7 separate regions of the Homo sapiens genome follow, and all the other regions are linked to region 6. Evidence: promoter capture Hi-C in 16 types of primary human blood cells and fetal thymus (Javierre and others, 2016). All regions are on one chromosome and are shown on one strand. The core of a region is centred on a gene start or on the middle of the fragment in contact, and the rest is flanking DNA. Distances in the headings are between cores, read along the strand shown.

Region 1 (3,702 bases), core at 939-3,438, 850 kb after region 6:
CATTCATTGCTATAAAGAAATACCTGAGACTGGATAACTTATAAAGAAAAGAGGTTTGACTGGCTCACAGTTCTGCAGGCTTTACAGGAAGTATGGTGTTGGCATCTGATCAGCTTCTGGGGAGGCCTCAAGAAGCTTACAGTCATGGTAGAAGGCAAAGAAGCAGCATGCATGTAACATGGCGAAAGAAGGAGCAAATTGGGGTTGGAAAGTGTCACACACTTTTAAATAACCAGACCTCACAAGAGCTCATTATCACAAAGACAGCACTAAGCCATGAGGGATCTGCTGCCATGATCCAAACACATCCCATCAGGCCCCACCTCCAGCACTGGGGATTAAATTTCAACATTTGAGTGGGGAGAAATATCCAAACGATATCATCTGATGTATACACTAAAGAATATTTCTGCAAACATACTACTGGAGGAAAATAACAAAGAGTAGCACTGATAGTGGTTATCCCTGTCTTGCTTCTGACCAAAAAGAGAATGCAGCTACAATGTCTCCATTATTGAAGCTTCCTTTGTAGCCTAATACATGCCCAATTTTTTAGAATGTCCATTAGTGCTGGAAAAGAGAGTGTATTTTCTGTACATCTCACAAAGCTCCTTTTGAACATATTTCAATCCACTTCTATCTCTAAAATTCTGTCTCTACAGGGGGCTCAAAATCAGTATGAGGAGACAAGTGGAGAACAGATGGTATGCCTTCCTCCTCCAATATTTTCTCATCTCTTCACCTTAGCCTTTTTACTGATCCAAATTTTCTCACCTCTCTCCAAGTTACAAAAAAAAATAGGTCTCATCTATGAAAGGACAAAAATTAATTCAGGTGGAGAGAGACAAAGAAAGAAAGAAGGAGGATGGAGATCTTGGTGGTTTCACAAGCAGCAGCCAGCCAAAATGTCATTGGATAGCTTGAAAAGACATTTTGAAATGATCTATATGCAACTTACCTGGGACTTTAATATTTATAACAAAATATAATTCTAATTCATTTGAATTCTTCCAAAGTTCTAAGAGAACTTCATTGGTTTTGGACAATGATTAGAGAAGAAAATAACACCAAGTAGGATCAAAGAAGAAAGAATAGGTTTAATATTACAGGGAGAGGCATCTGGGGATAGGGTGGGAGATAAGTAAAGGAAAAAATGGTAAAACCCTCCAAGATGGCAAAAAGTAACATACAACAAAAATGGGACTTTATCTGCCAATTATTCAAATAGACTCCAATAAAGTCTATTGAAAAATAATTACTTGCTGTAACTGGATTTTGTGGGAAATGATGAAGAGACTGTGCTCTGTGATGAAGATTGATTGAGGCATGACAGAATAGCATGAGTGAAGTCAGTGAGAATAGCAGCATAACAATCAAAAACCACCTCTTCACAAAGGCAATGAAAACACTGGCCAAAAAAATTGTCAAAATAACTTATTCTGGCCGAGCACAGTGGCTCATGCCTATAAACCCTGCACTTTGGGAGGCTGAGGCAGGCAGATCACTTAAGGTCAGGAATTTGGGACCAGCCTCGCAACATGGTGAAACCCTGTCTCTACTAAAAATACAAAATTTAGCCGGGCGTGGTGGCACACGCCTGTAATTTCAGCTACTCAGGAGGCTGAGGCATGAGAATCACCTGAACCCAGGAGATAGAGTTTGCAGTGAGCTGAGATCGTGCCACTGCACTCCAGCCTGGGTGACAGAGTGAGACTCTATCTCAAAAACAATGAATAAATAAATAAATATTTTTTTTCTGAACTCTGGAAATTAACAAAAGACTTGCAATAATTCAAGAAGCATTTACTCATGAAAACTGGCTGTATCTAGATAAGAACAGTGAGCAGCAACTTTGTGGTGTTTTAATTTGTCCTGTTCTCGTCTTCTTCTCCCCAGCTCTCCAATAGCCTTGAAAACCAACAGCACTGCCATAATGGTGAGAAACAGCAGCCTTGAAGCTACTAGACAGGGCAAAGCTGGTTTGGAGCTCCCCAAAAACACTATTCTCAGAGCACTGTCATTATTTGACCTGTCTGGCATATTCCTGCAACCTCCATTGGCAAGACTTGCCTGTATTTGATCTTATTCAGAACTTGCTCATTGCAAACAACCTTTTTGGAGGGGAGGAGGTGGAAAACAATAAGCACCAATTATTTAACATTGCCACTGCCTGAGGAGATGATAATGGTGGAACAAACAAGAAACTGACCAATACACTTAAAGGAAAAGCTGAATAACGAAATGTCAATAGGGGGCTCTGAAAAACTCCAACATATTCCTGAAACTCTAGAAAGCCATGCAGAAGCACACAGAAGGCTGTATACACGCCAAAGGCCACTTGAAGACCTAGGAAAGATCTAAGAAGTACCTAATATCTCACCTAAGACTGACCTTGAAGCTCTGTGAGAGCAAGAAGTGAAGGCTAAGGCAGAGTTGCAAACTGCCAGGCTAAATATTGAAGGTCTGGTGAAACACATGCACAAAGCCCATCAGTGAAGGATAAGAGACCTACTGATTCCAGACATTTAAGGAAATCTCTATCCAATCATTAGCTGACCATTAAGCTAAACAAGCAGAGATTTTAATGGCCACACATGACAAAGAATACAGGTTTTACAAATGCATTCAGGAAAGTCAGTAAACAAACTGATAGCAAACACAATAACAAGCAGCAGCAACAAACCCCGAGGGGGTGAGTGACATTTCCAGAGTTGCCATATTATTTAAAATGTTAAATATCTCCCAAAAAATGATAAAATTTTAAAGATAAATAAATAAAATGTTTCAAGGCAAAAGTAAAATAAAATGTCCATAACAAGTTTTCCATGAAAAAAAAAGACAAAACATGCAAAGAAACAAGAAGATATGGTCTACAGAAAAGTCAAACAAAGAAAAGGAAAGTTTGAGGAAGCTAGATATTGAAATTATGAGGCAAAGACTTTAAATCAGCTATTTCAAACATGTTCAAAGAACTTTAAAAAATCACAAATAAGGAACTAAGAGACTATAAGAATTATGGCTCACTAACTATAGAATATCAATGAAGAGATAGAAATTAGAACAAAAGAACCAAAAGGAAAAAATAATAAATTTAAAAGGATTAAAACTATATAATTTTCTTCTACCATAATGAAATTAAACTAAAAGTTAAAAAGGAAATTTGGGAAATTCACAAATATGTGAAAATTAAACAACACACTCCTAAATAAACAATGAATCAAAGAAGAAATCATAAGGGAAATATGAAAATAATTTGAGATTAAAGGAAACAAAAACACACCCAAAAAATCCATAACAAAACTTATGATATGCAGCTAAAGCAGTGCTTAAAGGGAAATTTATAAACACCAAATTATAAAAAGAAAAAATATTAAATTAATCATCTGTTTACCTTAAACTAGAAATAAAGGAACAAACTAAACCTAAAGCAAGAAGAAGGAAGGAAATAATAAAGACTAGAGTGGAAATAAATGAAATAGAGATTATAAAAGCAATAGAGAAAAACAAATTAAACCAAAAATGTCTTCTTTGAAAAGATCAAGAAAATTGACAAACTTTTTGTTATGCTAAATTGACCAAGAAAAAAAAAAAGAGAAAACACTGAAATGACTAAAATCAGGAATAGAAACATTACAAATTTTACAGAAATAAAAATGATTATAAGGGAATGCTATGAACAACAATGGCATATGCCAACAAATT
Region 2 (3,644 bases), core at 532-3,031, 920 kb after region 6:
GCTGATGGAAACTGATATAAAATATGACTGAATATATACAGAAGTCACACTTGTCCAAGAACCCCAAAGACAGGCGTTCTCAAAGATTCTGAACACTTATTTGCTGGGCCAAACTCCTTAAAAAAAAATTATAAAGGCTTTCCGAAACAGATGTGGGAGCCCTTTATAGTAGGCTAGACTGAATCTCTGAAGACCATCTCTCCATCCGCTGGACCGTTGCACTCAAGGGCAGCCAGCCTCCTCCACAATTGTGCAGCTCTATACAAGTGAGTCTAAAAGGATGGAAAAAGCAGGCCTGACACCAGCTATGTTCAAAATAAGGCTGCAGACTAATTTTGGAACTTTAAGACTTTCTGTTATTTTGTCCGAGTGTTAATTTAATCCGTCTCTTTTCTCCATGCGTTTCCTCAACTCTTTCCCAAACGGGCTAGAATTAAGTTCCTTCTTTTCAAACTTGGGGAAACTCTTTTTGTGTTGAGAAAATGACTCAAAAAAAAGCATTACAACACTATTTTCTTTTCATATTCTCTTTTTATTAGGGCAGTGATAAAGGGCAGAGTTGGGCAGTGATAAAGTCATAGGGGTCTTGAAGAATATTCTTCAGTGATTGTGCAAACACAAAGAAAGGCTGGATTCATAACCTTCCCCTTCTCCAATGAAGAGGGCACTAAGTACTTTTTCTAAAGCAAGTTCGTTTTTTTTAACCCCCGGTAATAGGAAAGAATGTACTCTTGTGAATTCGATAAAATATGTCTAGGCCACCTCAAATTCTATCCATTTCCTCTACTCTGCCCTAGCTCTACCAGGATGTCTAACTCTGAATAAAGGATGACAGAAGGTGAAACTTCTTTTTGGAAGCAGATTGGGTTGAGTTTTGTCACAAGGGTAAACAGGAGTCCTTTGATCATAATGTGTCCAACGCAATGCTGGACCAGCCTTCACTCCTCATCTTCAAGATTTCATAACCGTTGCATAGTAGTCCAGATCCCAAAGGTCACTGTAGAAATCTAGGTTCAAATTGCTGGATAGAGGCTTGCCCTCCTCGGCACCTCTCTAAATACACTGCAAGAAATGTGTTCACATATCAAACTAGCTTGATTTGGGGCAGAGTAGGGGCATAGAAAGCAGCTTATCCTGTGATCCCATAATGCCATAGAGGTCCCTTGAAGGTGTTCTTGACCCTCCCTGTCCTTACCTTCTCAGTGCTACTCTTTCACCCCATTCCCAAAGTCTCTTCTTAGAGTTTCCAGGATAATTGCTTTGTAAAAATATGCTGTTTATTCTCTGATGTCACTGGGCTCTTATTTTCAGATGCTTTTTATATTGAACTTTAACTTTTTGTTATTTTCATGTGTTTTGATTATTTAAATTCTGACCTATCTAATTGGAGAATATCCAATACAGTCTAAAACTTGGGGAATTTTAGAATATTTTGGTTATCTAATTAGCTAGGGTAGATATACTAAAATTGTATTTAACTTTCCTTATCTTAAATATCATAAGTTTCAAAAGCTAAAAAAGAGGAACAGACCTAAAATAAAATGACACAAATCTGGAAGATAAGGGAGGGGGAAAAGAGGATACACAAATACGGCCTCTACATTTGTCTTTTTTTTTTTTTTTTTTTTAGACAAGGTCTCAACCTGTCACCCAGGAAGGAGTACAGTGGCACCATCATGGCTCACTGCAGCCTTGACCTTCCAGGCTCCAGTGATCCTCCTGTCTCAGCCTCCTGAGAAATTAGGACTACAGGTGCCCACCATTATACCTGGCTAATTTTTAAAATTTTTTTTACAGACAGGGTCCCACTATGTTGCCTAGGCTGGTCTCAAACTTCTGGGCCCAAGCGATTCTCCAGCCTCATCCTCCCAAAGTGCTGGGATTACAGGCATGAGCCACCATGCCCGGCCTTTCTTTTGTCTCCTCTAAGGTGGTCCCAGACTGTTCACCTCTCTTGCCAAGAAAGCCAATCCTTCTGTAAACACACTCTTTGTTTCTCCAAAAATCTACCTTCTGGAAGTCTAAGCTATCTTCCTCTGCAGCCTCTGAATACCAAACACCAAGCTAAAACCACTGTTCTTTACCAAGTCTGCCTGGAAAGGTATCCTGTCCTCAAACCGACCAGCTATAACCCATCTCAGTTTCCTGCCTCCTCCCAGGCAGGGAACCCAGAACCTAGAGGGGTAAAAAGAGCTTTCTTTCAACAGGGAGCCTGGGAGAAATGAAACCAGACTTAGGCACAACAAAAGGGGGAAAATCAGACCGGCAAAGTAGATAAATTAGGGATAAACTTTTCACTATACGAAAGTATGCATCATGGAAGTCCTTCAAATAATTGCCCCAGTGGTACAGTTCTATCTGATTTTAAATATAAAAATGGATTTTCATAAAACATTTCATGAATATATTATTTGCCTAAGTAGAAGCCTACTAGTTTATATTCCTGTATTGGCAAAGAAAATTACTTTAGCTCAGCTGGGCGCGGTGGCTCACGCCTATAATCCCAGCACTTTGGGAGGCCAAGGTGGGTGGATCATGAGGTCAGGAGTTCAAGACCAGCCTGGCCAATATGGTGAAACTCCCTCTCTACCAAAAATACAAAAATTAGCTGGGCGTGGTGGCGCGCACCTGTAGTCGCAGCTACTTGGGAGGCTGAGGCAGGAGAATCACTTGAATCTGGGAGGCAGAGGTTGCAGTGAGCCGAGATCAGGCCACTGTACTCCAGCCTGGGCAACAGAGCAAGACTCAATCACACAAAAAAAAAGAAAGAAAAGAAAATTACTTTTAGCTCATAATAAGTATATATATATATATATATGTATATGTATATATATTTTTTTAAGAGATGGAGTCTCGCTCTGTGACCCAGGCTGGAGTGCAGTGGCGCAATCTTGGCTCACTGCAACCTCCGCCTCCCGGGTTCACGCCATTCTCCTGCCTCAGCATCCCGAGTAGCTGGGACTACAGGCGCCCACCACCACACCCAGCTAATTTTTGTATTTTTAGTAGAGACGGGGTTTCACCGTGTTAGCCAGGATGGTCTCAATCTCCTGACCTCGTGATCCACCCACCTTGGCCTCCCAAAGTGCTGGGATTACAGGCATGAGCCACCGCGCCTGGCCATAATTAGTATTTTATGCACCATTTTAATCTCAACTCTTTCTATCTTTGCTCTATATTCATTTTTTTTTTTTCTTTTTGAGACAGAGTCTCTCTCTGTCACCAGGCTGGAGTGCAGTGGTGCGATCTCCACTCACTGCAACTTCCGCCTCCCGGGTTCAAGAGATTCTCCTGCCTCAGCCTCCCGAGTAGCTGGGACTACAGGCGCCCGACACCACACCCAGCTAATTTTTTTGTATTTTTAGTAGAGACAGGGTTTCACCATGTTGGTCAGGGTGGTCTCCATCTCTTGACCTCATGATCTGCCTGCCTCGGCCTCCCAAAGTGCTGGGATTACAGACGTGAGCCACCACGCCCAGCCTCTTTTCTCTATATTCTAACCACAAAAATAAGATTTAGTTTTCCCATCCATTTTCAAATAAATCAAAGTGTCCTCCTGAAACTCAGGCAATAAAAATCTGATATTTCTTCGTTCTTGGTGGGCAAAGGACAAGTTTAACATTTTCCAGACTTCGAAGAGCCAG
Region 3 (3,595 bases), core at 102-2,601, 620 kb after region 6:
TGCTTGTGATAAAGGAGTCTAAAGCATAGTTGTTCAAATTAACCAGTATGAAAATTTCTCACATACAGGATCATAGCTTAATTCTTCCTAATGACTAACATTATTTAAAGCATTGTTTAATCTGTGCACAGTCAGTCATTGTTATGAAGCATTATTTCACAAGATTATGCAAGGTTTAAGGACATAAATGGGAATAATTTTCAAGAACATTCCAAAAATCTGAAGTCTATACAACCCATCAACTTGAACAATATTTACTGGTCCAGCAATTTCTAAAATAAAACTTGGTACACTTCACAATAAAAGAAAAATACAAAAACAATAATATGGAAGCCAAAACTTTGTCATAAATATGATTGAATAAATTTATCATTTTCCCCTTTCTTCATAGAAATAATCTAAATGCAACAAGAAATTTAAGAACAATAACACTATATCTATAATTGGGGTCAAATTAAGAGAAAGAATCCGAATATTTTTAAGAGCCAACCAAATTAAATGAGCTTGCACAAATGCACAGGTACAGTGAATCATCCTAGATCCAAATGAAACAATCCACCAAACCAGGCATTAGAACATCTTTGGCCTTCTTAAAGTTTGTTAATTTCAAGCATTATATTAATAGATTTTCAAGTATTAAATCATCTTTACATTCCCAAAATAAATTCAACTTAATTATGTTGTTTTTTTTTGTGCATGCATTTGTCCCTTCTCACTTTTTTTTTCTGGATCATGTTAGTATTGTAATTATTTTCAAAATATCATGTTGTGGTTTTATCATTGATTTTGTTATTTTCCTTTGAGCCATTAATTTCTTGCTTTTATTTTTAATTCCTTCAATCTACTCTCAACCATTTTATTTTACTGTTAATTTTATAACTTCTGGAGTTGTATATTGAATTGGCTTACTTTTATATTTCATTGTTTGCTGAAAATTCATCAATTGGAGTCAAATGACCCAAGTTTAAGTGTTGGATGTTTATTTACTAGATCTGTGGACTGAGGTAAAACTTTCTGCTTCTATATCTCTCTAGTATGGAAACCAGAGTGCACATTATTTTCTCCTGGTTTAGTATTTTCAATTACTAACTAAACATTGCTTTAAAAATATGTATCCAAATACAAATTCTTCATCTTGTTCAGCACATCATCATGTGTTAGAATATTTATTCTTAGAAGGACATCATTCTTTGACTTCTCAACATTTAAACTAAATTTTGAAGGGCCTGATGTATTAAAGATATAAAATGATTACATTATGAAGTTGATGCTTCTATGTATGCTTGAAGTTTTGCAGCCTACATGAGTTATCCTGAGGGACATGAGACAAATGTCCTGTTCTCCAATCTGCTGTCACAACACCTGAAATTCCACCATTAAATATGCTTGTAGTTAGAACTAATAAATGAATTCAACAAACTTGAAGGATACAGAAACAGCACACAAAAATCAATTGCATTTCTATAAACTAACAATGAACACTTTGGAAATTAAGAAAATAATTCCATTTGCAATAGCATCAAAAAGAATAAAATACTTAGGAATAAACTTAAACAACAATGCTAAAGACTTGCACAATGAAAACAAAAATGTTGCTGAAATAAATTAAATAAGGCACAAATAAGTTGAAAGACATCTGATATTTATGGATTGGAGAATTTAACATCATTAAAATGTCGATGCTACCAAAAGCAATCTACAGATTCAATTCAATCCCTATCAAAATCCCAATAGTGTTTTTGCAGTAATAGAAAAATCCATCCAAAAGTTCATATGGCAGCTTGTGAAACCCCAAATAGCCAAAATAATCTTGAAAAGGAACAAGTTTGGAAGGTCTAACACTTCCTGATTTCAAAGCTGATTACAAAGCTACAGTAATATAGCAAAAGCTGTGTGGTGCTTGCATAATGACAGTCATATAGACCAATGCAATACAATAGAGAGCCCAAAATTAAACCTTCACATTTACAACCAAATTATTTTAGGAAAGGGTCCTAAGACTGTTTAAGGGTGAAAGGAAAGTCTTTTCAACAAACAGTGTTGGGAAAAACTGGATATCCACATGCAAAAGAGTGAAACTGCACTCTTATCTTACAGGAAAAGCATCGCGATTTAGATTTGGCAATAATTTCTTTTTCTTTTTTTCTTTTTTTTCAGCCTTCAGAAAGCATGGAATTGGCAATAATTTCTTGGCTATAATACCAAAAGCATAGGATGCAAAAGAAAACTTAGATAAACTTGACTACATCAAAATTAAAAACTACTGTGCATCAAAGGGCACAATTAATGGAGTGACAGAGTGGATAAACAACCCATGGAATGGAAAAAAAAATATCAAATCATATATCCGACAAAAGATCAATATCCAGAATATATAAAGAACTCTTACAACTCAGCAGAAAAAAAAGACAACCCAGGCCAGGCGCGGTGGCTCACATCTGTAATCCCAGGACTTTGGAGGCCGAGGTAGGTGAATTGCTTTAGCTCGGGAGTTCAAAACCAGCCTGGGCAACATGGTGAAACACCATCTTGAAAGAAAGAAAGAGAGAAAGAGAGAGAGAGAAAGACAGACACCCCATTTCAAAATGGGCAAAGTAGTTGAATAGGCATTTTTCCAAGGAAGATATACAATTGGCCAATAAGCACAGGAAAAGATACTCATCATCACGAATTATTAGGGAAATGCAAATAAAAATCATAATGACATACTACTTCATGCCCATTAGGATGGCTACTATTCATATCAAAAATAATGATAGTAAAAGAAGTGCTGATGAAATGTGGAGAAATCAAAACACCTGTGTCCTGTTGGTGAAAATGTAAAATGGTACAGCAGCCACTGTGGAAACCAGTTTGGCAGTTCTTTAAAAAATTAAAAATAGAATTATTATGTGATTCAGCAATTGCACTTCTGGGTATATCACTTCTAAAGTTGAAAGAATTGGGGGATATACCCCAAATATTGAGACGTTTGCATACTCTTGTTGAGAGCAGCTTATTCACAATAGCCAAAAGATAGAAACAGCTCAAATTTCCATTGATAGATAAATAGTTTAACAAAATAGGGTATGTACACACAATTGAATAATATGCAGCCTTATAAAGGAAGGAAATTCTGAAAGCCTGCTTCATACTATGACATGAATGAACTTTGAGGACATTACGCTAAGTGAAATAAGGCAGTCACAAAAAAAAATTGTATGACTCTAGTTATACAAAGTACCTAGAGTAGTCAAACTTATAAAGACAGAAAGGAAGGCTGGTTTCTAGGGATTAGGTGGAGAAGAAAATAGAGAGCTATTGTTTAGTAGTCACAGAGTTTCAGGTTTCCAAAATGAAAAGAGTTCTCAAGATGGATGGTAGTGATGGTTGCACAACAAAGGAATGTACTTAACACTACTGAAGTGTCCATTTGTAAATGGTTAACATGGCAAAATTTATGTTATATATATTTTTCCACAATTAAAAATAATTTTAAAAATTTTTAAACATATTTCTCTTTAAGATTTATACTATACACATCTACTTTTCAAATGCAAATACAAGAGGATGTTACAATACAAGATCACTTACCAACCAACCATTACCATTCAAA
Region 4 (3,555 bases), core at 22-2,521, 680 kb after region 6:
GCTGATCTGAGCATAGTGGTTTTGGCACCCATCAAGTACAAAGTTTGCTCAACTTGAACTTTTCAGTCAGAATTGTGTGAGCTAAACCAGTTGAGACATTTATAGTGTTGGCTATTGTTTCCACTGTTAATCATCCGTCCTTTTTGATTAGGGCACTTATGGTTAATTTTTTCTTCACAAATTGTTATGGAATGTCTGCCACTGTGGGCTTCATCGGCATCCTCTTGTCTATTCTTAAACAAATTATCCATTTTGTTTAAGAACAGACAGACAAGAGGATGGCTGATTTTATTGGAGTGTTGAGCCTATAAATTTTTCATAAAGCATCAGTGATTTCACCATTCTTCCACCCAAGTTTCACCATAAATTTGATGTTTGTTCTTGCCTCAAGTTTAACAGAATTCATGTTGCTCTGATAGGGGCTCCTTTCAAACTGATGTCTTATCCTTCTTAGTGCCTCAAACTAAATCCTGTTCAGATATGTTATAACAACTTAGTATAAGTTTATTTTGGTGCCAGAAAATTTGAAATCCATGCACCGTTTTTCATAATACGCAATTTCTTTTTTCCATAAACTTTTTGAAGACACCTAGCATTTATTGAATAAACTGATCTGAAAATCCAACAATTCACAAAGAGTGTTGAATTTGTTTTTATTCATCTTTCAGTCATATGTTTCTGAATTACCTTAGCCAATTCTTCCAGCTCAATCTAGTGGCCAGATGGCAAATTGCTTATTGTGGCAGTTCTTTCTCTCAATCATTGGTCAAAATTTTGGTGTGTCTAACTTCAAACCAAAGACTCAGGGATTAGGATGTTTTTGATGAATGATAATTCTGGAAATGGTCTATAAGCCTAGAGAGGTATTTTCTTACAGTGTTTTCCCCCGATGCTACACCTGTGCTGTCACAACCATAGCCACTTCCTGTCTGTGATGGTGAATCCTTTCTTTGGTCTCTCCAGCAAGTGGATGTCTCAAGCAGACCCTTGGGGATTTTGTGTACCTCACTCCAACAGTTCTCTCACTGTAGCCTCTTTCAGTGCACAGAAACACATCACTGAGTTCTCCAGTTGTGAAGTGGAGATGACAAGTTGATGGATTTGCTTGCCTTCTGCAAATGCAATGAGTAGTGACCTATTGCTTATTGCTGATCGTGAGTCCTGATGAATAAGGAAAATCATCTCCCCACTCCTGGGCTACTTGTGCCAGAAAGGACTATAACTTCCAGCACTGGTGTCATAATTGCAGTCCAGAGTCACAGCCTCCTTCTCATGCACCAATACTGATGGTTTAATTTGAGTTACTTCTCAGCAAAACCAGATTCTGAAGGAGAAAACAAAGAACCAAAAGGTTTAGGGATGAGTGATGTGGAACAAAGAAATTCTATTTTTACACCCTGTTACTTCTTCTGTCCCAAAGTTTTGATGAGACATTTCCCAGTCCTTGGGTCTTAGAGGAAGACCATTCCCACCAGGGGCATCCCTACCTAGCCACATTGAAGCTGTGACCACCCTCAGGCAGCTGGAGAGCAACATGTTTGGTTCTTTCTCTAGAGAGAATATATTTTGTTCTTCTTAAAATTCAGGGCTCTGCATTGTGAGGTGAGTCTGATGAAGTAAGAGAAGAATTACTGGACTATGTGCTGCTGCTGCTGCTGCTGCCCTGGAATAGGAAACGGAGGTTTTCCGGTGTAGCAAGCTAGTTTGTGTTATCTAACACTTCTCTATGTACTGGCTAAGAACCTCACCCAATGCAAACTTCCTTTGCACTTACCCACCCTTAATTTGATAATAAATAACTTAAATATGAAAATAAACATGGTCAGGTTAGAAGGGAAATTGATAATTCGGCCAATTGCTATGTTCAGTCATTGCATCTGTGATGGAACTGAGCAATGAGGTTGAGAGGTTGGCACTTACTTTAAAATACTACATGTAATGAATAATGAAGGCAACGGAAGATGTAACAATTATGTATCCTCACATCTATGTATGTTGTTGTTTCTCCTAAGGTAGAAATTAATCACATTATGCTAAGAAGGAAAAGCTGTTTGCACTAATCACTGCAGATCATCGGACCTACATGTTAATATAGCAATATTTGTCCTATTCCCAAAGTCTGTCCAGTTGCTTATCTGGGGAACAAACGGTAGAAAAAAACTAATCTCTCTTTCTCTTTTCTACGCAGAAAAAAACTAATCTCTTTTTTCTGAGAGTTTAGAATGAAGCCCTCAGACATTGAGTCCTATCTTAAAAGTTTTCTTCTTTTTTCAAGTTAGTTTAGACAGCCCAGCTCTGTTTATACAGGCCATATTAGACACCAGACTCTGATCATTAAGTTATCAAACCTTTGAATTTATGCATTTTTATTATGTCATCTGGGACCCCAAATGAGCCATAACAAGCCATTACATTCTGTACATCCACTGCTGAAAGGTATGAATCCTAGGTGTCTCCATACGTCTCCCAAGGAAAAACTATTATAGGAAAATTGATTGTGATAAGGCTTTCGTTTTGTGAATATTAGCAGTAAGGCCATGTCCTAGGGATATTACTCAATTACATTAAAAACAACAAAGACCCATTGCCTATTATAGCCTATTTCTTAATATAATGATTACAACCTATCCTCCTTGTCTTAAAATGATTTCAGCTATGTCTAAATTTGTTGAAGCATCTCCAGATCTTTCACTGAAATCACCATTAAATCTTATGATGCCACATACAGCACAAATGATCTACTCTGTAAAAACAACCATTTTTTTACCAGTTGGTGGACTAACTATACAATATTATTAATTTCTCCTCATAGCGTCTAACTCCATTACACTTCTCAATCAATGAATCTTATGATTGCATTTCTGTAACTCAAGAAGTGTCCATCCCAGAACAGATATTTTGGACAGTCTCATACCTAATTCTGAATTAATTTTGTTTTTAATGTCTTATCTTCAAAACTGAAAAGAAATAACACAAGGTTTATAATGCATTTACTGCTCCAGACTCCATTATAAAATCTAATTCCTTAGAAGAAGCAAAACAAATTAAAGTAACTGAATTTGTGGCTCTCTCTTTGCTATGTCCAATTATGAAAAATATATACAGTGATAGCCTATATGTTTTAACATAGTTCACAACTCTCAAATACTATGGAGATGATGAGATTTCTTAACCTTCTTAACCTTTTCATACATCTCATGTATCGCTATAAAATAGACACCAAATACGAAAATTATTTGAATTATTGATACTACTCAAAGAAAGACAAAGTTCCAAAGTAGGAAAGACACTATAGAAGCCAGGAAGAAATACATGAGCAGAGAATCATGCTAAACATGCCTTTCTGACTAACGTCCTCATGCAAGTACCTCTTACAGAACATGCAGAAAAATCTATGGAAAATTTTAGTAACTACATCTTGGATCAATTATTGATTTGTTTGATCAGTGAGGATAAGATATATCAAGGCCAGAAAGGCTGCCTGGTGGGACCAAATGATCTCCAGTGAATACTTGTTTTAGCAACCTTCCAGAGACAGCCCATCACAGTAGGGAT
Region 5 (3,851 bases), core at 611-3,110, 730 kb after region 6:
AGGGGAAGGAAACTTCTCAAGATATTTCCGGCCAGGAGCAGTGGCTCACGCCTGTAATCCCAGCACTTTGGGAGGCCAAGATGGGTGGATCACGAGGTCAGGAGATCGAGACCATCCTGGCTAACACGGTGAAACCCCATCTCTACTAAAAATACAAAAAAATTAGCCGGGCGTGGTGGTGGGCGCCTGTAGTCCCAGCTACTCAGGAGGCTGAAGCAGGAGAATGGCATGAACCCGGGAGGTGGAGCTTGCAGTGAGCCGAAATCACGCCACTGCACTCCAGCCTGGGCGACTGAGTGAGACTCCATCTCAAAAAAAAAAAAAAAAAAAAAAAAAAATTTCCATCAGCCACATAAACTTGTTGCTCTTTCACTTAGTTGACATTCTGCTGGTAGGTGTCCAGATCAAAAACCAAGCTAGTCTCTCCCTTCCAAACAACACTGTCATCTACTTCAGCAATAGTAACACAGCATGACAGACTGTCTTGCCCTTGGGAACACCCAGATGTAGCAATTAACTTTGTGTGTTGAGTGAGAATGTCTTTATCCTCGCTTGAGGACATGTATTCTACTTGAGCCTAAGTAGAACTTTAGGCTCAAGCTCAAATCAAATCATGTCGGAGAGATAAATATTCACTAGTGAAATCATATTCTGCATAAAAAATAACGGTCTACTCTAACTCCTATGCCTCCTTGATAACCTCCAGGTGCAGGTTTGCATACTGGCTTCAAGTGCCTGTGGAGCACAGTGCGCTCACCACACAGATGTAGGAGGCTGAATCGCTGAGCTGGGAGGCTGTGATGTGCAGAGAGCTTTGCTTTGTGTCTGCATCCAGAGTTGCTGTATATCTTCCGTTCGACTTTGTGTTCTCACTGAAAGTCATGATTGTCAGGGAAACAGGACCTCTCCCCGTATCTTGCTTATACCACCTTAAGTTGCTGAAGGGGCTCACTGTATAATTGCATTGAAGAGTGCAGTTCTTTCCCTCCAGGATGATCAGGGACTGAGGACTCTGCTCCACTTGGTTTTTGCCATTCCCCCCTATTCAGAAAGAAAAGTGAGATTCAAGAGATCCATCATCCAGTATTAATACTGTCTAATTTGCATCCCTTCCTTACTCCCCACAATGAATCCCAAGTGAAACAGAAAATGGTCCCATTTTCTCCCTTCCTCCTATCCCAGTGGACTACATCTTCACCCCAAATCCTAAGAAAATATTCCCTTGACTTACTATGTTAACTTTGCTAAAACTCTCCACTAACTTACTATAAAAATAAAGCCACAAAATCACCAAGAAGGTCGTCAGATGCTTTTTCATTTTTATTCTGCAGAGATCTGCTCCCAGAAGTTGACTTGTGTATTCAACATCTTCTCTTTTTTTTTAACACTAACCAAAGGGTTTCTCAGAGGGTATCCCTAGCCAATCAGAGACCAGGCTTCGCTATGTTACACATACTACACATTCAGACCTGCAGGCGGGGCGAATGCAAATACTGCCCTCTTGGGGTCAGAGCTACAATTGCTTAGAACTTTTGATCAAGCTTTTTTCCTCCTATTTGCAGCATGATATAGAGGATAAAGCCCTTCATGTCTATATCAGCACAGTAGATTAGTAATTTAGACATATATTTGAAGCTCTGCATTCTGGCTCTATGTGATATTAAATAGGAGAGTTGAGCCTTAGCTTTCTCATCTGAAAATAGGTATGATAACACTTACCTAACAATTTTTGAAAGATTGAAGAGATGATTCATGTAAAGGCTTATTGTAGTGGCTAACATGAACTTAGCCTTCAACTGAAATATAAGCTCCCTTAGGATAGGGACTTTTATCTGTTCTATTCTCTGCTACATTGTCAGTTGCTAGAATAAGGCCTGTCAATAAATAGGCATATAATAAATTTTTATTGAGGGAATGAATAAATGATAGTTTTGTTCTGGTAATGACAGAGTTATTTTTATTATTCATTTTTAATTCAACAATTATTTTTCAAATGCCTACATTTTCAGGTATGATGATAAGTGCTGAGAATAAGCAAAGTCCCTGCACACAGGGGATGACATTCTAATGAGAGGAAAGACAGAGTATTTGAGCATAGATGCAAGTGACTGGTAAGTGTTGAAGTTTTTGAAAATTCTCTTCTGATTGTTTCTATTTTCTCAGTGAAATAAGAAGCTTATGAACAGTTGAGAGTGTAGATATATGAGGATTTATTTTAAGTTTGAAATTTAAAGCTCAGAGAAGTTGAAAGAATGGAAATAGTTATACAAGAAACAATAAAAAGAAAGTTGGTATATTATAGTTGTATAAGCAAAGTAGGCTTTTGGAAAAGATTTGCTAGAGGTAAAGACCGTGTGATGGCTAATTTTATGCATCCACTGAGATAGGCCCCAGTACCCAGATATTTGGTCCAACATCAGTCTAGATGTCACTGTGAAGGTGTTTTTAGATGAGATTAATATTTGAATCAGTAGACTTTGAGTAATGCAGATTTTCTGCATAATGTGAATGGACCTCATTCAATCAGTTGAAGGTCTTAAGGGAAAAACACTTAGGCTCTCCAAAGAAGAAGAAATTATGCCTCCAGACTTGTCTTCAAACTCAAACTGCAAAATCAGTGATTCCCAGGTTGCCCAGCCTGACGACCTGCCCTGCAGAAGTTGGACTTCCCAGCCCCTAAAATTGTGTGAAACTATTCCTTAAAATAAATCTCTCTATATAGATAGATAGATACAGATATAGATATGTACATATCTCTATCAATACAGATAGATATATACAGAGAGTTGCATGTAGACATCACAGTCTTAAATCTGCGTGAACCTAAATAATATAGATCCATTGTTAGTTTTATATGCTCTTGTGAACAGCTGCTTTCCTTTACAATGAGATTACTTTTTTTTTTTTTAAGTTCTGGGATACTTGTGCAGAACGTGCAGGTTTGTTACATAGGTATACATGTGCCATGGTGGTTTGCCGTACTTATCAACCCATCATCCAGGTTTTAAGCCCCACATGCATTAGGTATTTGTCCTAATGCTCTCCCTCTGCTCTCCCCCTAACCCCCGACTGGCTCCGGTGTGTGATGTTCCCTCCCTGTGTTCATGTGTTCTCATTTTTTACCTCCCACTTGTGAATGAGAAAATGCGGTGTTCAGTTTTCTTTTCTTTTTTTCTTTTTTTAAACAGAGTTTTGCTCTTGCTGCCCAGGCTGGAGTGCAATGGCATGACCTCGGCTCACTGCAACCTCCACCTCCCAGGTTCAAGTGATTCTCCTACCTCAGCCTCCCAAGTAACCAGGATTACAGGCACCCACCACCACGCCCAGCTAATTTTTTGTATTTTTAGTAGAGATGGGGTTTCACCATGTTGGCCAGGCTGGTCTTGAACTCCTGACCTCAGGTGATCCACCCACCTTGGCCTCCCAAAGTGCTGGGATTATAGGCATGAGCCACTGTGACTGGCTGGTTTTTCATTTTCTATTCCTATGTTAGTTTGCTGAGAATGATAGCTTCCAGCTTCATCCATGTCCCTGCAAAGGACATGAACTCATTCTTTTTTATGGCTGCATAGTATTCCATGGTGTACATGTGCCACATTTTCTTTATCCAGTCTATCATTGATGGGCATTTGGGTTGGTTCCCAGTCTTTGCGATTGTAAATAGTGCTGCAATAAACATATGTTTGTGTGTCTTTATAGTAGAATGATTTCTAATCCTTTGGGTATATATCCAGTAATGGGGTTACTGGGTCAAATGGTATTTCTGGTTCTAGATCTTTGAGGAATCGCCACACCATCTTCCACGATGATTGAAATAATTTACACTCCCACCAACAGTGTAAAAGCATTCC
Region 6 (4,134 bases), core at 969-3,468:
TAGAGGTTGGTAAAAATAGAATCTTGCAGCCTCCACTGGAAAGAAGTCCCTTTTAAGGTTTACCTACTTTCCTCCCATCAAGGCTGGAAGCATGAAATGGAGACCAGGTGCTCCCCATTATGTAAACCATATTCCTTCATCTACCTAGACTCTCTTAGGTCCTGCCAGCCTTGTCTTCTTACACTTATATGATCTTCCTCTAATATTTTCCTTTTTTGTTGTTGTTGTTGCTAAATTTCATGTGGGTGGTTCGGGGAAAGGGTAGACTTGCACTCCTCCCCACTAATCAGTGGGATTTTAGGAAGGCTTTGAAAATGGGAAGGATCCTCCCCTCAGATCCTATCACCTTTGGAATGGGAACATGCCCACATTTCCAGAGCGAACAGACACTGGAGTCCTCTCTTCTCAAAGGTGGCGAACCGTCCTGGAGTGACGTGGGGTGTTCTGGCCTGCGAGGAGATGGCTGCCCGCAGAACCTGCCCGCTGGAGGGCGCTGCAGAGGTCTGGCTCCGTGCTTTCAGATGTGTTCGGCCAGGGGCTCCAGGGGCTCCTTCTGAAAGCAGAGAAGCCCCCAGAGGTTGAGAGGGGAGATAAGACGTGAGCCTTTTCAGCTGTGATGTGGTGAGGAGTCAGGGAGGCCGTGAGCACTGTGGGGCCAGAAGTGTTGGCTTCTGTCAGAAACTCGGCCCAGCCTGACCGCTGCCTCCTGGCCCTGTCATTTCCCCTCCATCACGCGCTTCCTTCTGGAAGCCGGAAGCAGGAGGTGGGAAGCTGCGGAGGTAGTGACAAAATCATGGTGTAACAAGAAGCTCCTAGGGCCGAAGTGACTGGAGAGGTGGCCACATACTATGAGAAACACCAGCGCACCGGCAGGGCCTGGGGAGTTCTGAGCTCTCCCGGGCTGTGTGAAGCCGCAGCCAGCCCACTTTTTTCTCAGTATGGCAGTGCCATCTGACCTGGCCCAGCCCATCTTGTTCGGGTCATGGTTCGTCTTCCTGGGCATTCTGATGCATTCCCACTTCATATTTGCACTGGGATTTCAGTTTACTAAGCATTCCACACCCATTACTGCTTTCAATCCCTTCAACAACACTGAGAATAGGTGGGCAGGTATTTTTATCTCTATGTGAATAATAACACATGGGGACTCAGAAAAATTAAAGGCCCCAGGAGAGAAGGCTAGTGAGGGGCAGTGACGCTTAGGGACAAACAACTGGTTCTCCTGCCTCCTGCCTGAGGACTCCTGCCTGAGGAGAATATAGTAACAAAAGCCTCTGTCTTGCAATTGCAGCCATTAACACATCTCTTTCATACCCACTACTCACTGGACTGTTAACTCCTTGAAGACAGAAACTCTGTGTGTGTGTGTGTGTGTGTGTGTGTGTGTATTTAATGGGAGCAGTACTTTCTTGAGGCATAATTACATGAAAATACACTAATGATGCATTTGATATATATATAGCCATCACCCAAGATAAAGATATGGAACATTTCCACCACCCCTGAAGGTTTCCTCGTGCCCCTTTTCAATCCATCCTTCTACCCCAGAGGCAAACAGTGCCCTAATTTCTATCACCTGTGATGCGTTTTGCCTGTTCTTGGACTTCATCTGTATGGAGTCATAGTTTGCACAGAGACTGAATCCCCAGAGCACGACACAGCCTGGCACATGGCAGGTATACAATGCCAAAGAAAGCCTGGTTCTTAAACTACCTGTGAGAGAGAGTTCGTCCCACCGGGAAACTGAGGCGGTGGGCGGTTAGTGACCTGCCAAAGGCACGAGTGTATGATGTGGTGGATCCCGGACTCCAGCCAGCCTAATTCCGAACCCAAGGCCTCCTCCGGGCCCCCAGCCCTCCCTGGGCACTTCCTCCAGGGCTCCGGGTGGAGCGGGTCTGACGATCCCGGACGAACAGCGCCCCCTGCTGCCGGCCCAGGCCCCAGGCCCTCCTCTCCTTTGGGGGGGGATGTGACAGGATGACACAGGCCTTGCGCCCAGCGCAGTGACGGGCACAGGGCAGGGACTTGTGGGATAAAAGTCACCTGCCCTTTTATTTTCCTCGGAAAAGAGCTTTTCCTAAACTTTGGGGGCTTTCTATCTCCAGAATTAACAGACAAAGGGAGAAGAGGTCTTTTTGGTGGAGCGCTGCTGCCCCCATGCGGGTGGATGGCGACACTACCGAAGAGCAGGCGATCAAGCCTGGTATTTTTGGGTTTCAGGTTCTGCGGCTCCCTGAGACCAGCAGATTCCTGGTCTCCGGGTCCCTGGGTCCCGGACGTGTCCATCAAGGCGTCCATTAGGGCCATCACCTAATGGACAAGCATCAGGGTAAGGGGGGAGGTGCTATTGGGGGGGGGTCCCTCAGAGAATCAGCCCTAGCTCTGTGTGGGGGCAAATACGGCCTCCCCACCTCCTTCCCTCCCAGGAGACACTGGCCTGAGCATAAGTCTCGAGGGTCTGCCCTGTACTAAGCAAGCGCTTAATCAGGTGAGATCAAGGTCTGATCTTGGCTGGTTTGGAGGGGCAGCAGAGGTGCGGTGAGGGAGGCGGCTCAGCGGTGGGGCCAGCAGCACCTCCCCAGCCTGCTTGCGGGCCCGGTGCAAGTCACCGAGGGGCCGGCAGCCCCTCCCAGCCTGGCATGTTGGCCTTGCTGCACCTGCGGTTGGGGGGTGGTGTAACGGCCCAGCCTGCTCCCCTCGGCACGTGGCCTGGGGCGATGCTATCTCTAACTCAGTATTTTAAACTCTTCTTTCCAGAGGATGTGGCTTCTGCGGGAGAGCTTCAAAGGGTGCCCTACTTGCCCCTCTTGGTAACCATGACGTCATGGAAATGGGAGGGGACCGCCCCAGCCCCCAAACACCTGGAGGGAAGTGGGAGACTTTTTCCACTTCCTGTTCTACTTGTGGCTACTGACTCAATGTCTGACCTGTTTATTAATTGCAAAATATAGCTCTATGTGTGCTACCCAGAGAGGCCTCAGGCCTGTGTGTCTCTGTGTGAAAGGAGGCCTGCACTCCCCACCCCTCGCCGCGTTGCCCAGGTGGCCTTGACACAGACGCAGGGCGCTGGTGGTCCTGCAGCCTTCCGGCAGCCAGAATGACAGCACTGGGTCTCCATGTGCTTGCTCCCCCAGACTCATCCCAGTCAGAAGCTCGTCTTCCCACACATGGCTCACGGAGGTAGATGGGTTTTAGAGTAGGACTCATGGAGAAACTGAGGCGAACCCACATAAAGTGACTGTTGGCTCTGGACCTCAGTGTGGTCACACAGTGAGGTCAGACTCCCAGGTACCCTGCGTGATTTACCACAGTCCCTGTCCTCCAGGCTTTGTTGGATAGATGTGTGCCTGCCTGGGGGCTGCCCTGAGCAAGGGGCCACCACTCAGGCTTTCCTTGTTCTGAAGTTCTTGACAAGTTACTTTAGCTCTTGGCAAAACTGTGAAGCATTGACTCACCTGACCACTTCCTCTACTAATCCCCACTTTCCTTTCTCCTGTACTCCCCACTCCTCACACTCAGCTCCCCCCACCCAGAGCCTAACTGCAGGAGTCATTCACTTATTCATTTAACGGCATCTGTTGTGTGCCAGGCACTGTTCTAGTTCCTGGGGACACATTGATGACAAGGGACATTCCCATCCCACAGAGCACACAGGCCAGGGGACTTCCACACTAGGATGGTACCTGATAATAAGGTGCTATAGGCCTGTCTGTATACGTGATCCCAGGGGAGTTGAATTTTATGTTTGGACCTAAAAAATAAGCAACTCCTTAAGACTCAGATGGCTGCCCCCAGTGAGGGTAGCAGCAGAGGGGTTGCTCTGTCAGAGCTGAAGACCTCACCAGGATGCTCCTGAAGCACGTGCTTGCATAGCCTGCCCTTTCTCCTGAGTGGCTGTGACTCCAGTTGCACTCAGAGGTCAAGTCTTCAAGTGAAGTTTCAGAGAGTCCTCTAGAATCTTAGGGCTGGGGCCACAAGAGCTCATTTAGTCCATTCTTCTGCCTTTGGGACTGGCCTGTGCTTAAGTCTTTTGGGAGAGTAGGGCATGTGTCCAGAGAAGTCCCTTCTACAACTGGCCTTAGTAACATGTTCCCTGCTGGGATGTCGGCCTGAGGTTGGGTCCAGGCTGGTAGA
Region 7 (3,666 bases), core at 1,029-3,528, 830 kb after region 6:
ACTGCACTCCAGCCTGGGCAACAGAGTGAGACTCTGTCTCAAAAAAAAAAAAAAAATTCTGTTGCAAATACATTATTATTAGCTATAGTCACCATTGCAGTAGATATCTTGAACTTATTCTTCCTATCTAATTAAAATTTTGTGTCCTTTAACCAACATCTCTCCAATCCCTTTCCATTCCCCTCACAAGCCTCTGGTAACCACAATTCTATTCTGCTTCGATAAATTCAACCTTTTTATTACACAAATAAGTGAGATTATGTGGTATTTGTCTTTCTGTGCCTGGCTTATTTCACTTGACATAATGTCCTCCAGGCTCAATTGTGTTGTCACAAATGGCAGGATTTCTTCCTTTTATAAGACTGAATAGTATTTTATTGTGTTTATATGCCATGTTTTCTTTATCCATTCATCTAAGTATAGATACTTAGATTGATTCCATATCTTGGTTATTGTGAATAGTGCTGCAATAAACATGAGAGTGCAGATATCTCTTTAACATACTGATTTCATTTTCTTTGGATATATGCCCAATAGTGAGACTGCTGGATCATACAGTAGTTCTATTTTTGGTGTTTTGAGAAACCTCCCTACTGTTTTCCATAATGGTTGCACATTATGGAATTTACGTTCTTGCCAGCAGTGTGGAAGAGTTCCCTTCTCTTCACCTTCTCAACAATGGTTGTTATCTTTTGTCTTTTTGATAATAGCCAACCTAATAGGTTGTGAGGTGATATCTAATGGTGGTCTTAATTGCACGTTCCTGATAATTAATGATGTTGAGCATTTTTTATATACCTCTTGGCCATTTTTATGCCTTCATTTGAGAAACGACTATTCAGTTCCTTGGCCTATTTTTTAATCAGGTTATTTGGATGTTTTTGGTATGTGAGCTTCTTAAACATTTTGAATATTAACCCCTTATCAGATGTAGAGTTTGCAAATATTTCCTCCCATTCCATAGGCTTTCCCTTCACTCTATTTATTGTTTCTTTTGCTGTGCAGAAGCTTTTTAGTTTAATATAGCCCCATTTGTCTATTTTTGCTTTTGTTGCCTGTGCTTTTGGGGTCATATCCAAAAATTCCTTGCTCACAAGAGATGAAAAGCTTTCTCCTGGGTACTATGTTCACTCTTCGGGTGGCAGGATCAATAGATGCCCAAACCACAGCATCACACAATATGCTTTTGTAACAAACTTGGACGTGTATACCATGAACCTAATTTTTTAATGGTCTCAACAGGGTATGTAACATTGCAAAATTATTATGATGATGACATTTCACCTCGGTATAAAAAGAAATGTCTGTTGAAAATAAACCCCTTTTCAGAAAGAAAGAAAGAGAGAGAGGCAGGGAGGGAAGGAGGGAGGAAGGAAGGAAGGAAGGAAGGAAGGAAGGAAGGAAGGAAGGAAGGAAGGAACTTCTTGCCCAGACCAATGTCATGGTAATTTTCCCCTATGTTTTTTTCTATTTGTTTTACACTTCTTTCACCTTTTTATGACCGGTGCTTTGCCCAGTACCTGGCACATCAGGACTCAATAAACACTTGCTGAATGAGCAAATTCTATGGTTTTAAATTGTAGTTTAACATAATAAGTGACATATCCTGGAAGCACACCGTTCTCATGTGAAGGAACAAAGACTTCAAGAAAATGGGCTTTACCAGACTCAAGAGTTTGTGTTCTGCTCCCCCTGCAGCCCCTATCAGTGTGTGTCTCTCACAGCACAGAAGTACAAAGCGGAGTCGCTCACAAGGGCAGATGGTTTCTTCAGGTGGAAGGAGGTTTGGCTCTTGTTAAATTCAGCTTCAAAGCCATAGCTGCCTTTAACCAGGTTATCCCCTGTGATGTATTTCAGAAGGAACTGGAGGCCTCGGTTGGGGTATTGAACATACCAAAAAAGATAAGGGTTTCCAGAGACTGAATAGGTGCATTTCACAGTCAGAGGATTCCCTTCAGCAACGTTGACCTGATCTTCCGGCTGAGCCACTGACTGAGCTCTCAGCCCACCTGTAAATTAATCATGCTGCATCAGTGAAGCTGCTGGAGAGCATGTAAGTGGATCATGCGAGTGGAAAATGGGAAGGGGATATTACTCACTCAATGTGAAGAGCATCGCAAGCATCGAGATGGGTGCAGAGGCCATGGCTCCAGCTAAGCTCACGGCGGGCGGGATTGGGGGGGTCCTTTCCAGCCCACCTCTGCTGGAGATATGGCCCCACCCCAGAGAGTGGGCTCTTGAAGAGGAACCAGCAACCCTGTGTCAGCACAGGGCTTTTGGAAATGGCCCTTCCTCAGGGCACTGGTGCTTCCCGACACCGGTATCTTCTCTCTGTGGAGCACAATTTTGATCCAGCTCCTCAAAGCTCTGTGAGGAGCAAGACTGCCGCTCCGCCTATGCCCAGGACAGACCTTACACTGCATCGCCCCCTAGAGCCCACACGTAGGACCAGCGACTTTACTGTCAAGCAGCTGGTGCTTCCTGGCCTTATCCCTGGGCCAACCTTTGGATGGTTACACGCTCCATGAGGGACATAGGGAGCAAATTAGGGGTTCAAAGGAGAAGAAATAGAAGTTTGTGAATCAAAGTGGAAAAGATTCAGGCTGAGTGGATCAAGCTGTAAATGATTTGTGCTCTCTTAAGATAATGTAGAGACAGAAAGAAGGGAAATAGGATGGGAAAATGCACAGAAAAAGAAAGGAAAATATAGCTTTGCATCAAGAGGGAGAGAAAAATTTAAAGTGAGAGATAAGAAAAAGCAAAATAGGAGAAAAGAGTAAGGCAAGAGAAGATAAATGACAGGCGAAAACAGGAGCCTTGCTCTTCTCGTTAGAAGTAATTCAGAGCTGGCTTCTGTGTAAACCTCTTTGACCAAAAATAACTCAGAATTTTCTCCACGTTGGGCCTATTAGGAGCCCATCCCATAATGATCTTTAGGGCAAAAAGAAACTTGAATCTTCTCTTTAAACATTTTTAGAGTGAGAAAAGTACGAATAGGTGTTATAAATATTTTTGGAGCATTTGTCATATTAAACAGTACATATAAAACAAAAAAATGAAACTCTGAGAAGGGGTTGCAAAACAGGTACTTTCCACATGCAGAGCCTACTTAAAACAGACTTCAAATGAAGTACGTATTCAGCAAAAAATGTATGGTTAACGAAACTTGATGTATTATGATGGGGAAAAGGGGTTCATTGGAAAGGGATGGCATGCTAAAGTTTTATACTAAAAAAAGGCAACAATAGCAACTGAGTGATTCTTTGATAGATTTTAATTTTAATGTAAAAAGCATGTATCAATATAAAGAAGTTGTTCCTCTGATTTGCCTTCTGTTTCTTTTGAATAGTGTCCAAATAATGTTCACTATATATTCTGAGGAAAGGATGAAAAATCTCTTTGCTTTGAATCAGAAAAAAAGTGGAACATAATTCTTTCTAAAAGCTTTGCTAAAGATCTCATATTTAATCATTGAAAACTTAGCCATATAATAATGTTTTTCTTTGGAATTGGTAAACTGTCTTTAAACAATAATCTTCAAGTTCCAGAGAGACTTGTCATAAATGGAAACATATAGTGAATTTCTTCTCTTTCTTCTCTCTCTGCCTCAAGCCTAAAATGAGTGTTAGTGTTGTCTTTTTGAGGGTCCTGGCAATCGCCTCGAGA

Evidence for each region. Contacts are between HindIII fragments. The CHiCAGO score rates a contact against its expected background, and 5 or more counts as called.
Region 1: a fragment that was not itself captured here is called in contact with the fragment with the promoter of LINC02332 in region 6 in 3 of 17 cell types (total CD4 T cells, non-activated CD4 T cells and naive CD4 T cells); the score reaches 6.4 in total CD4 T cells.
Region 2: a fragment that was not itself captured here is called in contact with the fragment with the promoter of LINC02332 in region 6 in 1 of 17 cell types (naive CD8 T cells); the score reaches 6.7 in naive CD8 T cells.
Region 3: a fragment that was not itself captured here is called in contact with the fragment with the promoter of LINC02332 in region 6 in 6 of 17 cell types (non-activated CD4 T cells, total CD4 T cells, naive CD8 T cells and 3 more); the score reaches 11.0 in non-activated CD4 T cells.
Region 4: a contact is called between a fragment that was not itself captured here and the fragment with the promoter of LINC02332 in region 6, in 4 of 17 cell types (non-activated CD4 T cells, naive CD4 T cells, activated CD4 T cells and 1 more). The highest score is 8.9, in non-activated CD4 T cells.
Region 5: a fragment that was not itself captured here is called in contact with the fragment with the promoter of LINC02332 in region 6 in 7 of 17 cell types (total CD8 T cells, naive CD8 T cells, non-activated CD4 T cells and 4 more); the score reaches 10.6 in total CD8 T cells.
Region 7: a fragment that was not itself captured here is called in contact with the fragment with the promoter of LINC02332 in region 6 in 5 of 17 cell types (naive CD8 T cells, total CD4 T cells, non-activated CD4 T cells and 2 more); the score reaches 10.2 in naive CD8 T cells.

The regions. Positions count from the first base shown.
Region 1 is chr14:21,705,507-21,709,208 of GRCh38, reverse strand. It overlaps TRA. Among named protein-coding and RNA genes, the nearest start is that of OR4E1, 34 kb to the right of the region's middle. RefSeq lists an enhancer at 624-793. The HindIII fragment of the contact is 3,331 bases long and covers 523-3,702 here.
Region 2 is chr14:21,636,412-21,640,055 of GRCh38, reverse strand. It overlaps TRA. Among named protein-coding and RNA genes, the nearest start is that of OR10G2, 3.3 kb to the right of the region's middle. The HindIII fragment of the contact is 5,745 bases long and covers 1-3,644 here.
Region 3 is chr14:21,930,136-21,933,730 of GRCh38, reverse strand. It overlaps TRA. Among named protein-coding and RNA genes, the nearest start is that of OR4E1, 260 kb to the right of the region's middle. The HindIII fragment of the contact is 4,495 bases long and covers 1-3,595 here.
Region 4 is chr14:21,872,530-21,876,084 of GRCh38, reverse strand. It overlaps TRA. Among named protein-coding and RNA genes, the nearest start is that of OR4E1, 200 kb to the right of the region's middle. The HindIII fragment of the contact is 5,738 bases long and covers 1-3,555 here.
Region 5 is chr14:21,822,975-21,826,825 of GRCh38, reverse strand. It overlaps TRA and TRAV10. Among named protein-coding and RNA genes, the nearest start is that of OR4E1, 150 kb to the right of the region's middle. The HindIII fragment of the contact is 634 bases long and covers 1,544-2,177 here.
Region 6 is chr14:22,555,146-22,559,279 of GRCh38, reverse strand. It overlaps LINC02332 (long intergenic non-protein coding RNA 2332), which reads left to right and starts at 2,218. Exons shown (of 3, transcript NR_146543.1): 1 at 2,218-2,329; 2 at 2,427-2,488; 3 at 2,758-2,969. LOC105370399 (a long non-coding RNA gene) reads right to left here and starts at 2,714. Exons shown (of 2, transcript XR_007064066.1): 1 at 1,714-2,714; 2 at 1-553. RefSeq lists enhancers at 1,613-1,822, 2,683-3,022, 3,073-3,172, 3,753-3,882 and a silencer at 2,523-2,572. The HindIII fragment of the contact is 9,123 bases long and covers 1-4,134 here.
Region 7 is chr14:21,722,368-21,726,033 of GRCh38, reverse strand. It overlaps TRA and TRAV3. Among named protein-coding and RNA genes, the nearest start is that of OR4E1, 50 kb to the right of the region's middle. The HindIII fragment of the contact is 2,337 bases long and covers 1,110-3,446 here.